Regions from separate parts of the Homo sapiens genome. Here region 1 is linked to region 2. The links are contacts of gene promoters, found by promoter capture Hi-C in human tissues and cell types (Jung and others, 2019). All regions are on one chromosome and are shown on one strand. Each heading gives the region's core, a stretch centred on a gene start or on the middle of the fragment in contact. The rest is flanking DNA. Distances are from core to core; before and after follow the strand shown. Region 1 overlaps PSMD1 (proteasome 26S subunit, non-ATPase 1). Region 2 holds the start of B3GNT7 (UDP-GlcNAc:betaGal beta-1,3-N-acetylglucosaminyltransferase 7).

Evidence for each region. The method cuts DNA at HindIII sites, captures the fragments that hold promoters and counts their contacts. A contact is called where the count stands out against the background at its distance.
Region 1: a fragment that was not itself captured here is called in contact with the fragment with the promoter of B3GNT7 in region 2 in 2 of the 25 tissues and cell types used here (H1 embryonic stem cells and lymphoblastoid cells).

Annotation. Positions count from the first base shown.
Region 1 is chr2:231,091,041-231,096,359 of GRCh38, reverse strand. The region is part of intron 16 of PSMD1 (proteasome 26S subunit, non-ATPase 1); the gene reads right to left. Among named protein-coding and RNA genes, the nearest start is that of HTR2B, 31 kb to the left of the region's middle. The HindIII fragment of the contact is 5,322 bases long and covers 516-5,319 here.
Region 2 is chr2:231,392,711-231,397,888 of GRCh38, reverse strand. B3GNT7 (UDP-GlcNAc:betaGal beta-1,3-N-acetylglucosaminyltransferase 7) reads right to left here and starts at 2,179. Exons shown (of 2, transcript NM_145236.3): 1 at 2,075-2,179; 2 at 1-158. The coding sequence starts at 2,085. RefSeq lists enhancers at 568-637, 1-779, 3,048-3,097, 3,393-3,974, 3,975-4,557 and 1 more and a silencer at 2,028-2,497. The HindIII fragment of the contact is 23,756 bases long and covers 1-5,178 here.

The DNA.
Region 1 (5,319 bases), core at 1,927-4,426, 300 kb after region 2:
CGACTCCATCTCCCTCAGCCCCGCCATTAACAGAAAAAAATAACAAAAAGGAAATGGAGGTTTTGCCTGAGTCCCCTCCTCCAATAAATTGGAAAAAAGACAAGGGATATCCTACAGCTATGGGATTCTGTCTTAGGCAAGCAGCATTAGAAGGGGAGCTCTTAGCCTGCCTGGTAATGCAAGATCAACAAGGCAATCAGGTACATGAACCCATTTATTTTAAAGCTTATAAAGAGATAAGAAAAAGCATTAGAAAGAACGGAGCCGCTAGCCCATTTACAAGAGGTTTGAGGTCACTCTGCAGACCTCTTTCTAATAATGGCCACTGTTATTATTCCTCCCCTACCCTTAACATGGCTCTCTCAAGATCCAACTTGGGTAGAACAGTGGCCTTTAAAGGGAAAGAAATTACAAAGAGCCCATGAATTAGTTGAGGAGCAATTAAAAGCTGGCCATATAGAATTGTCAAACAGCCCTCGGAATTCACCCATTTTCGTCATTCCCAAAAGGTCTGGCAAATGGAGACTTCTGCATGACTTACAGGCTATTAATGCTAATTTGCAACCCATGGGGCCTCAACAGGGCCTCCCTTCCCCCGCAGCGATTCCTCAAGATTGGCCTTTAGCCGTTATTGACTTAAAAGACCGCTTTTATACTATTCCCCTTGCAGAACAGGACAGAGAAAAATTTGCATTTACCATACCAGCTATCAATAATGAAAGGTCAGCTAGCTGATTTCATTGGAAAGTGTTTCCTCAAGGGATGCTAAATAGTCCTACCATGTGTCAGTATCATGTCAATCAAGCTTTGCTCCCCAGTAGAAAAGAAGTTCCTACTTGCAAGATTATTCATTTTATGGATGATATTTACTAGCAGCCCCAACAAAGGCATTTAAGTTTATATGCCTCTGTCATAAAGAATACACAGCTAAGAGGTTTAAACATAGCACCTAAAAATGTGCAAATGTCCTCTCCTTGGAAATATCTTGGATACATGCTAATTTCCTGGTCAATAAGACTTCAAAAGGTTAAATTAAATACTAGCAACTTATACACCTTAAATGATTATCAAAAATTATTGGGCAATATTAATTGGCTTCGTCCCACCTTGGGCATGACTACTGATAAGCTGCAAAACCTGTTTTCCATCCTAAAGGGCAATACAGCCCCAGACTCTCCCAGGTATTTAACTCCTGCAGCAAAAAGGGGAATTGAGGAAATAGAGCAAGCTATTTCTCAGAGGCAACTAAATCGCATAGACCCAAATTATTCAGTTCAATTGTTTGTTTTTCCTACTAAACACTCCCGACAGGGTTAATAGGACAAATGGCCCCAGGGCTACGCTTCCTGGAATGGATTTTTTGCTCACATACCTGGACTAAAACACTATCTCCCTATATCCAGCTAGTTAATAAAGTCAACTATACAAGCTGCAGACAATGCAATCAGTCACTAGGTTATGACCCTGATGTCATAGAATTCCTTCAAGTAAAAAGCAATTCAAAGCAGTATTGCCCTTATCTCTAGACCTGCAAATAGCACTTTCTGATTATACAGGCCATATAGAGCATGCCCTTCCTGCTGACAAACTTAATTCAGTTCTTATCTCATACTTCTGTAGTTGTGCCTATAAAAGTAGTTCACTCCCCCATACCCAACGCTTTAATGCTTTTTACTGACGGTTCTGGTAAAAATGGAAAAGTGGCAATTTGGTAGAAACCACATAATTCCCTTACTCATTCTGGATTTACTAGCACTCAGACAGCTAAGGCTGGAGCCTTAATACTGGCACTGGAAACTTTTTCTGCTCAGCCCATCAATATTGTTAGTGACCCTGCTTACTCTGTTTATTTATTGCAGAACCTTGAAACAGCCCTCAAGTCCATTCTCGAGCCCACCCTGTGTGCACTTTTTCTTTGACTTCAGCAATTGCTGGATCAACGTACACATCCTATTTCTAATCACACATATTGGAGCCCACAGCTCACTGCCTGGCCCATTGGCTTATGGCAATGAACAAGCAGATATGCAAGTTATGACGTCACTGCTTGACCAAGCCACCCAATTGCATCAATTTTTCCACCAAAATTGGAGTAATTTAACTAAACAATTTAAACTCACCCAAAGGCTAGCTAAAGAAATTATCCTGCAATGCCCAGATTGCCAGCTCACAGGCACCTCCCCTCCTTCAACACGTGTTAACCCTAGAGGACGGCACCGCCCCTCCAACAGGTGTTAACCCTAGAGGACTAGAACCTAATCAGTTATGGCAAACAGATGTTACTCACATCCTAAATTTAGAAAACAAAGATATGTACATGTATCCATTGATGCCAATTCTCAGTTAATTAGTGCACATACTTTTCCTGGAGAGTCCACCCAATATATTATTAAACATCTACTCTTAACTTTTGCATTTATAGGGCGGCCCACAAAAATTAAAACTGATAATGGTCTGGCTTATGCCAGCTCACAATTTCAACAATTTTGTCACACGTGGAACATCCAACATTCCACAGGCATCTCGTATAACCCCCAAGGACAGTAGAACATACCCATTCCACTCTTAAAAATATGCTCAAAAAAACAAAAAAGGGGGAATATGGGTAAGAACCTGGCAACACTACTGGCACAAGCCTTATTTACCCTTAATTTTTAAAATTTAGATGATAAATTTCAGCCATAGAAAAGCACTTTGCTAAAACCTCTCAAGACATAAAACCTGCAGTTTAATGGAAAAATGTAAATAGTAATGTATGGTGTGGTCCAAATGATTTGCTTACATGGGAAAGAGGATATGCTTGTGTTCACACCCCCTCAGGTCCTCTCTGGATTCTAGCACGATACATCAAATCATACCATGGTGTGGCTAGGACCCAACCTGGTACCAGAAATGAAGGAAATGTCCCTGCAGGACCAGCAGCCCCGGACGACGCGGCTTCCTAGGATGACACAAGCCCCGGACTTTACCTGGGGGATGCTGAAGAAGACAACTCAGGAGGCTGAGCGAATCCTGCTCCAGACACAGACACCATTCACTCCACATAATTTGTTCCTTGCTATGCCTTCTGTTGTACACTGCAACTCTCATAGGGTATTAACCCTTCTTAATCTCTCACTCTGCCTGCAACCTGCACCTGCTACTCTCTATTGGGCTCATCTCTTAGATCTGCTTTTCTTTTGCCCTGTTACTTGAGCAGACACCCGCTTCCCAACCTCTAATAACATAATTGCTTGGCTTAGATCTGCTTTTCTTTTGCCCTGTTACTTGGGCAGACACCCCCTTCCCAACCTCTAATAACATAACTGCTTGGCTAGGAGGGATTGACTTACCCCCAGTGGGGTCCCTCATTAATGGCACACATTGGATTAAGATGCCAGGTAACACTATATATCACTCCACTATCCTCCCACTGTGCATTAGTTATAAAAGTTCCAATCCTTACTGTGTACCTGCCCAAACTCAAGTATGGCTATATCATGGCAAAGGAAATGCCTTAACATTCTTGGTTGCAGATAGCCTCAAACCGGGCAATGCAACCAACGCCACTTTCCCCAACATTCCTTCCTGTGCTAAAGAACATAGCCAGGAAAGTAATGGATTCCACTTTGGCTGGGAGGTCTGTCATGGAGGACAAGCCCGTAGACTCCATTTAGGCTATTATAACATCTTAGACTAGAGCCCCCACTGACACTTGCAGAGCAACCATACTGATGTCCTCATCCATCGTGGCATCAATCACAGTTTTGCAGCCACGTCTCATTCCCGTACAATTTGGGCCGATGGAGGGACGGGATATCCCAGATCCCAAGGAGAGTCCATGCCACCCCAAGACACTTTATGGTGCCTGGGACATCTTAGCATCTCCCTTTACACCTGGTATGGGACATACCATAATTCCAGTAACAACTATACTGTGACCTTTATTCATAATCACACAGATCAGTGCCTGATTTGCACTACCCATCCATATGTTTTCCTTATGGGAACCAATATTTCCATTACACCCCAAAACTCCACGTTTGTGACCCGAGTGCAGGGACAGGTTTGGTTTGCCTCATGCGTCACTAATTATATCTAATTTAAATATTACTAGTATCATGGTATTAAGGAGACAATCTGAAGCATTCCCACCAATTTGACACGTGATTGGCAAGGTTCCTCTGCTCTTGCCACCTGAGAACATGCCCCGTCCCAGGTCAGACCCAAAAGATTCATAGGCACACTTATAAAACCTTTATAGTCTCAGCCATAGTCATCTTAGCAACTGCTAGTATTGCTGTGGCCTCTATTACTGAATCTGTAAAAACAGCTACCTTTGTAGGTAACTTGGCCAAAAATGTGTCTAATGAACTTCTCTTAGAGCAGGGTACAGATCAAAAGATTCTTGCACGCCTGCAAGCCCCTGAGGCTGCCTTAGAATATACAGGGGAGCAGCAAGATGCGCTGGCATTCCGACAGCACTTAAACTGTGACTGGGAGCATAAGTGTATCTGTGTCACCTCCCTACCTTGGAATCAACCAATACATAGTTGGGATGAGGTGAAACAACACCCCTGGGGAACCTTATATGATAATTTAACAGCAGACTTAAGACAACTTAAAACTAAAATTCTAGAATCCCTAAACACCGTAGATCTACACGCCCAACAAACAGCCATATGGAAGGATGTGAGATAACATCTCTCCTGGATAGACCCCCACTCCTGGGGGTCAATTCTTGTTGGAAAAGAATGTTACTGATTATACTCATGTTTGTCTTATGCTATTTACTAATTCTAGGATGCAAAGCTGGAAAACGAGTTATAACCACTATGCCTAACAAATCTGCTGCTGCACACATCTGTACTCTTCAATTAACAAAACCTGATGTAAAAAGCAGAAAAGGAAGGAGGAGATGTAGGAGATCAGTCAGGGTGGTGGGAAAAGTTATAAAAATTATAGGGAAAGATGCAAACCTTATTGGAAGGCCGGGAGGTTTTGCAAAAGCTTCAAGAGGATTTAGCTGAAGGCAGTTAAATTCTCTTAAGAGCAAGGGTTACATAACAAGGGAATGTAAAGGAACTTATCTAGATAAACTTGTTTACTCTTGTCTCCAGAAACTAATCTGTGATCATTCGTGTGCAGGACTGCTCTCTATTTGGTGGGTCGACAATGTTAATTACCCACAAATTGTGTTTGCTCCAAGCCTTTCTCATTAAATCTGTACTAAATAAACACGAGCATCTCTGGCTTATAGAGGCGGCTAACTCTCTTCGGCCCTAGTGCCAGCAGCCCCCTAGCCCACTCCTTCACTGGATATCCATGTCTGAGAACTTC
Region 2 (5,178 bases), core at 930-3,429:
TCACCAGCTGTCCATTTGGCTTCTGGGCCTTCTGTGGCTCCAGGGTGGGTGGCGGAGGCTCCTGCAGAAACTGACCAGGGGTGAGACTGCGTTGGAACACCGTCACGGCCACGAGCAGGGCCAGGGCCAGGCACAGACTCCGGTAGACGGTTTTCTTCCTGTGGGGGAGAGCGGACAGTACAGAGGAGAGAGAAAAGATGAGCCCAGGGCTCTCCTGGCGCCCCCCTTGGGAGGCTGGGTGGTCCCAGACGGGCAAGTGGACCTGGGCACAGGCTCAGTCCCGGAGTCCCTAAGCTGTCAGGGTAGGGTCCCGCTTCCTCTCCCACCCTGCCCTTTCTTTCTCCCACCCTGCCCTCTCCTCAAGGAGCACTGTGGAATCAGGCCCTGACGCTTACAAGCTGAATGAGTGGTTTACAACCACTCTGAGCCACGATTTCTTCTTCCCCCAAATGGGGCTAAAACACAGGATTGGAGTGCTATATAAAGTACCAGGCAGCGGGTGCACAGTTAGGGGAATGCTGTCACCTTAACAGGAGGGCCTCAGGTGGAAACCTCTGCCCTGTTCCCCACGCCTGGAACCCCAATGCCTTTCATTTCCCTGCGGTGTACCTACCCACAGCAGTAGGTATCGGTATCATTAGGTGACTCAGAGCCAGAGTCATTGAGAGGGCACCCTCTGATCCTCTGTGCCGCCCGGGAGCTCCATCACATGTGGGGCACATTGGAGAGTGGCTCGAGCTTGGGACCTGAGGAAGACTGGCCCTCCTCCCCCTTCTCCAGTCTGTCTCACCCAACAAAGAGCAGCCCTCATGGTTGATGGAGGCCCAAGGATGCAGTGAGCACCTCTAGCATGGCACTGCCCCTCACCCCTACCTTAACATCCCCAGCTCATAACACCCCATTAGAAGACATGAGGCTACAGCTCTACTCCCTGGGAGGGGGCACATTTGCAGCTCCAGCCCTTGAGGGACCCTTCTTGCCCAGAGACCCCCCCACCCCAACCCCGGTCCACACCCATTTCGGAAGCAGAAATTAGAGCTCTCTGCCAGGAGTGCTGGTCGTCCCAAGCCCTGGGGCCTGAGCCCCTGTCCTGAAGGACCTCCTCTCTTCATCTCACCCTCCGGGGGCTGCCAGGACACCTGCCCCACCCTCCCCAGTGGAGACCTGGGGGCTGAGAGCTCTGGGGACAGCAGAGTGGCCTTCCAGGGCCAGCCTAGCAGAGAGATGGCGCTGACCTCCAAGGGGGAGGAGCAGGGTGCCAGGAGAGACAGGCAGCCCGTGGAGACGCCTGGGTTGCCCTGAGGGCTGGTCCGGTTGCAGGTCCAGGCCCCAGGGTGAATGCAGGCTGAGCCCCATAGAGCGACATTTTCCCCATAGGGTCCCCAGGTTGCTGGGGCATGTGGTTGGAGGAAGACAGGGGCACCTTAGGTGCAGGCTGGGGGGTGTGACCCAAGGTCCAGCTCTCCGGGGAGGAAACGGAGGGCTCCGGATCCGGCCCTGCCAGCCCTAGGGGTTCCAGGGAAGCCGCCCACCGAGGCCGGGACGGGGGAGGTCGGGGGGTGCACCGGGAAGGCGGCGAGGCCCTGGGCTGCGGGCGCTCCACCTGCCGGGTCCGCTCCATTCGTAGGGAAAGCCCGGGAGGGGCGGAGAGGGGCCGGGCGGGCGGCGGTCCGAGGTCCCGCGGAAGGAAGCCCCGAGAGGAGGAGAGTGGCCCGGACGCAGGGGGCCCTCAGGGGTCTGGAAGGGAGAGGGGACCCAGCTGCCGGCAAGACCTGGGGTCCCAGCCGCCAGGGTCCTGGAGCGGTGTCCAGGGCCGCGGGGCCGGGGAGCTGAGCGCGGCGCCCCGAGACCCCTCGACGTCCCCCACGGGTCCGGGGCCGCGTACCGCGAACATCTCCCGCCGCCGCCGCCGCGCCCGCCCGCCCATCCGCCCCCGGGAAACTGAGGCCGGCGCGGCGCGCGCGGGGGCATCTCCTATCCCGGGAGTCCCGGCGCCCGTCTGTGGCCACGGAGGAGGGGGAGCCCCGGGCCCACGCCCCCGCCCAGGCCCCCGACGGCCCCCAGCCCCACTCACCACAGCGACATGGCGGCCCGGGCCGGAGCGGCGGAGGGGCGAGCGGCTCGCAGCTCTGGGCGCCACGGCTCGGGCCGGCGGGACGGCGGGCGGGTGGGGACGGAGACCGGGCCGCGCCCCCGCCGCGACTTTCCTCTTCCCGGCCGCGGGAGGAGGGGCCGGCAGGGGCGGTGGCCCAGGTGCCTTAACCCCTTCGGCGCCCAGGGCCCGCCCCGCCGCCGCCTGGCGGGGACCACCCCATTTCTCCGAGACGGCCCCTAGGCTCCCCAAGCGCGCCTAGTAGACAGTGCATGGCCGAGGCGGGGCTTCGGAACCCACGGGGGTCACCTCCAATCCCGGGGACGCCTGTCCCTGGCGGAGCCTCCCGGGGCGGGGGGAGGGCGGTCGCCGGTCCCTCCTGTACTTGTGCGAAACCTGAACACCCGGTCCCCTCCAAGACCCTGGGGCACCCCAAGGCCCAGCCATTTCCCTCTGGCCCCATTCGGACTTGTCTTTGGGGCCAGAGGCAGACAGGGTGTCCTTTTCTCCCTCTGCTACCTTCTGCCCCTGCACCTTTCCCCTGACCAGACGGACCCCTTGCCCAGCTGTTGGGCTACCTAGGGCCAGGAGCAAAGCCAGCCACTAGGGAAAGAGGCCGTATGAGACTGGGCTCCATGTCAGGACTCGCCCAGGCCTGTGGCTCTGGAAGCTTTTTTTGTGCCCCCACCATGTCCCTCTCTTCACCTCTGGGGTTCCTCCCACCTCTGAGGGCTCCCCACCACCAAGGGAAGGCCTGTTGGCCCAGCCCTATCTCCTTTCTTTTTTCACTTATCACTCAAAACCCTTTTTGTCCTCAAGCCTTTATTAGTCTGCTTGTGCACATCAGGCCTAGCGGCTCTGGGGAGTGGGCTGACAGAGAACACGGAGAGGGCTTGGTCCAGCCAGGTGACTTCCAGAATCCTCCAGCAGGGAGAGCCATCGCTGGTCCTGTTGTTGCTCAGGTTGTTCTGGTCTTGTTCCGGGTTGAGGTTTCGGTGCTTAGCATCCAGCAGGACCTCCAAAAGGCCCACAGAATTGAAACGGAAGCACGTTGTGGTCCAATCATAACAGCTAACGTCCACTGAGCAGCTACAATATGCCAAACCTGGTTCTCGGCCCATGCATGACTGGCTCACTTAATCCTAGAGACATACGCTATTATTCCCACCTTACAGGGGAGGAAACGGGGGTGCAGAGGGGAACTCCCAGCCAGCTCAGAGAACAGCGAGCCCAGAGTTAGTAAGCACATCCAGGAGGCCTGCATGGCCTGAAGGCTGGCTCTGAACCCTTCCTGCCTGGTCTGAAGGCTGGCTCTGAGCCCTTCCTCAACCTTTTTTCCTTTCCCAGGGACAGCAGTGACATGGAGCTACTTTCCTGCCCAGCACACAGGGAGGCTAGGAGTCCTCAGCTGGATCTTAAGCCCTCGAGGCCAGGGTGAGGAGCCCCTTCTGCCCTATCCTTAAGGTTCAAGGGCCCTTTGGAGGGGGAGGAGAAACTTAAGGTACCATAGAATGTTCTGGAATGTTGTAAGTGCCAATTAGGGAATGTGAAGGGCCTTTCAGGCAGAATTTCAGAGGAGTATCTTGGGGCTGATGTCCTTTGTAATGGCCCTCCAAAAGTTCCAGAGCAGGGGAGGGGCTGACCTGCAGCCCAAAGCCCCTGTTGGCCTGGCTGCCTGCCACTGAGGGCCACCCGCAGATTCTGCAGCTCCACGGCTCCCTTCATCCCAGTGTAGCCTTGGCCACCGGTTCCCGCAGGGCACCAAGCATTTTGCTCCACTGCCCAGCCTTCCGAGTTCCCCACTTCACCCTGCAAGTGTGGCCCTGGCTTCCCTGGCTCCACACAGGTGCCCTGCTGAGAGCTGCCTCCCTGGCTTCAGCACTGACCTCTCACCCGGTGCTGTGGGGTCTCCTCCTCCTGCTGAGGGGTGGACACAGCCGTCCCTGGGAAGGGGGTTTTGAGCCCATGTTTGGGGATGGCAGGCATGGGCGTTGGGTCAGAGTCTTGCACTTCCTGGTTGTCACTGGGGGCAGGTGGCTTTTCCCCTTGAGACCTCAATTTCCTGCCAGCTCAGGGCCTTGTGAGATGACGCCAATGAAGCACAGACATAGGCATCCCCTATGTAAAGAACTTGGTGGCAGGCCGGCTACTGTTAGTGTTATCATTGATGTCCAGCTACTCCACAAAGCCCCAGAAGCACAAGGGCCAGAGGAGGTGGGAGCAGAGGGAGCTGCCCAAGGTCAGCGGAGTGTTTGCCAGTGGAATCTGGTCAGTTGAGACAGGCAGTTTGTCATCATGGAATCATTTGATCTGTGCCTAGTTTGAATTCAGAGAGGGGAAATGAATGACAATTAAATGCGAGTCCCTGATGGTGGGGTGGGGGTGGGGAGTGTGGAGCCGGGCCAGGCTCGGGTCAGCCTCCCCTGTTACTCCAATGTGCTCCCCTGTGGGGCAGCTGGGCCAGTCCCTATGGCAAGCACAGTGGTCCCCCCACCGCCAATCTGGCCAGTTCCACCTGCCCCAGCCAGAGGGCAGAGCCCCAGCAGATTCCTGTGGATTTAAGCGAGGCCCTGAGGAAGGCAGGCCTGTCTGCGATGGGATCTGCCTACCTGCTGTCCCCAACCCTGGCTGAAGGCAGAGCCCAGAGGTAGAGGGAAGTTCCAGAGTGGCAGATACCAGGAGAAGAGGGTGGGTGACGGATGAGCTGGCTGCATAGGCTGCAGGAGTCCCAAGCCAAGGTGGAGGTGGGTTCTGTGTCCTTGTCACAAGGCCACTCTGTGCACCTCAGGTTGCTCCCTTGGAGGGGGAAGCTCGTGAGCCAGGACGTTGGAGGACCCCAAGAAATGCCCCCTTCCCCAGTACATCTTTTGGCCCCTCAGCCCATCCCTACCTCCACCTCCACTTTCTTTTATATCCCACCCCTTCAACCTTCCAGAATAGGTTGGAATCCGACCCTGCTGGTAACCCCAGCACAGGCCTTTGCCCAGAGGCGAGGGCTGCAGAGACCCAAGGGTGGGAGTATCTGACTGGCCAGAAAACACACTGGGTCAGTGGCTTGACTGGACAAGGTGGGGGCCAACTTGGGT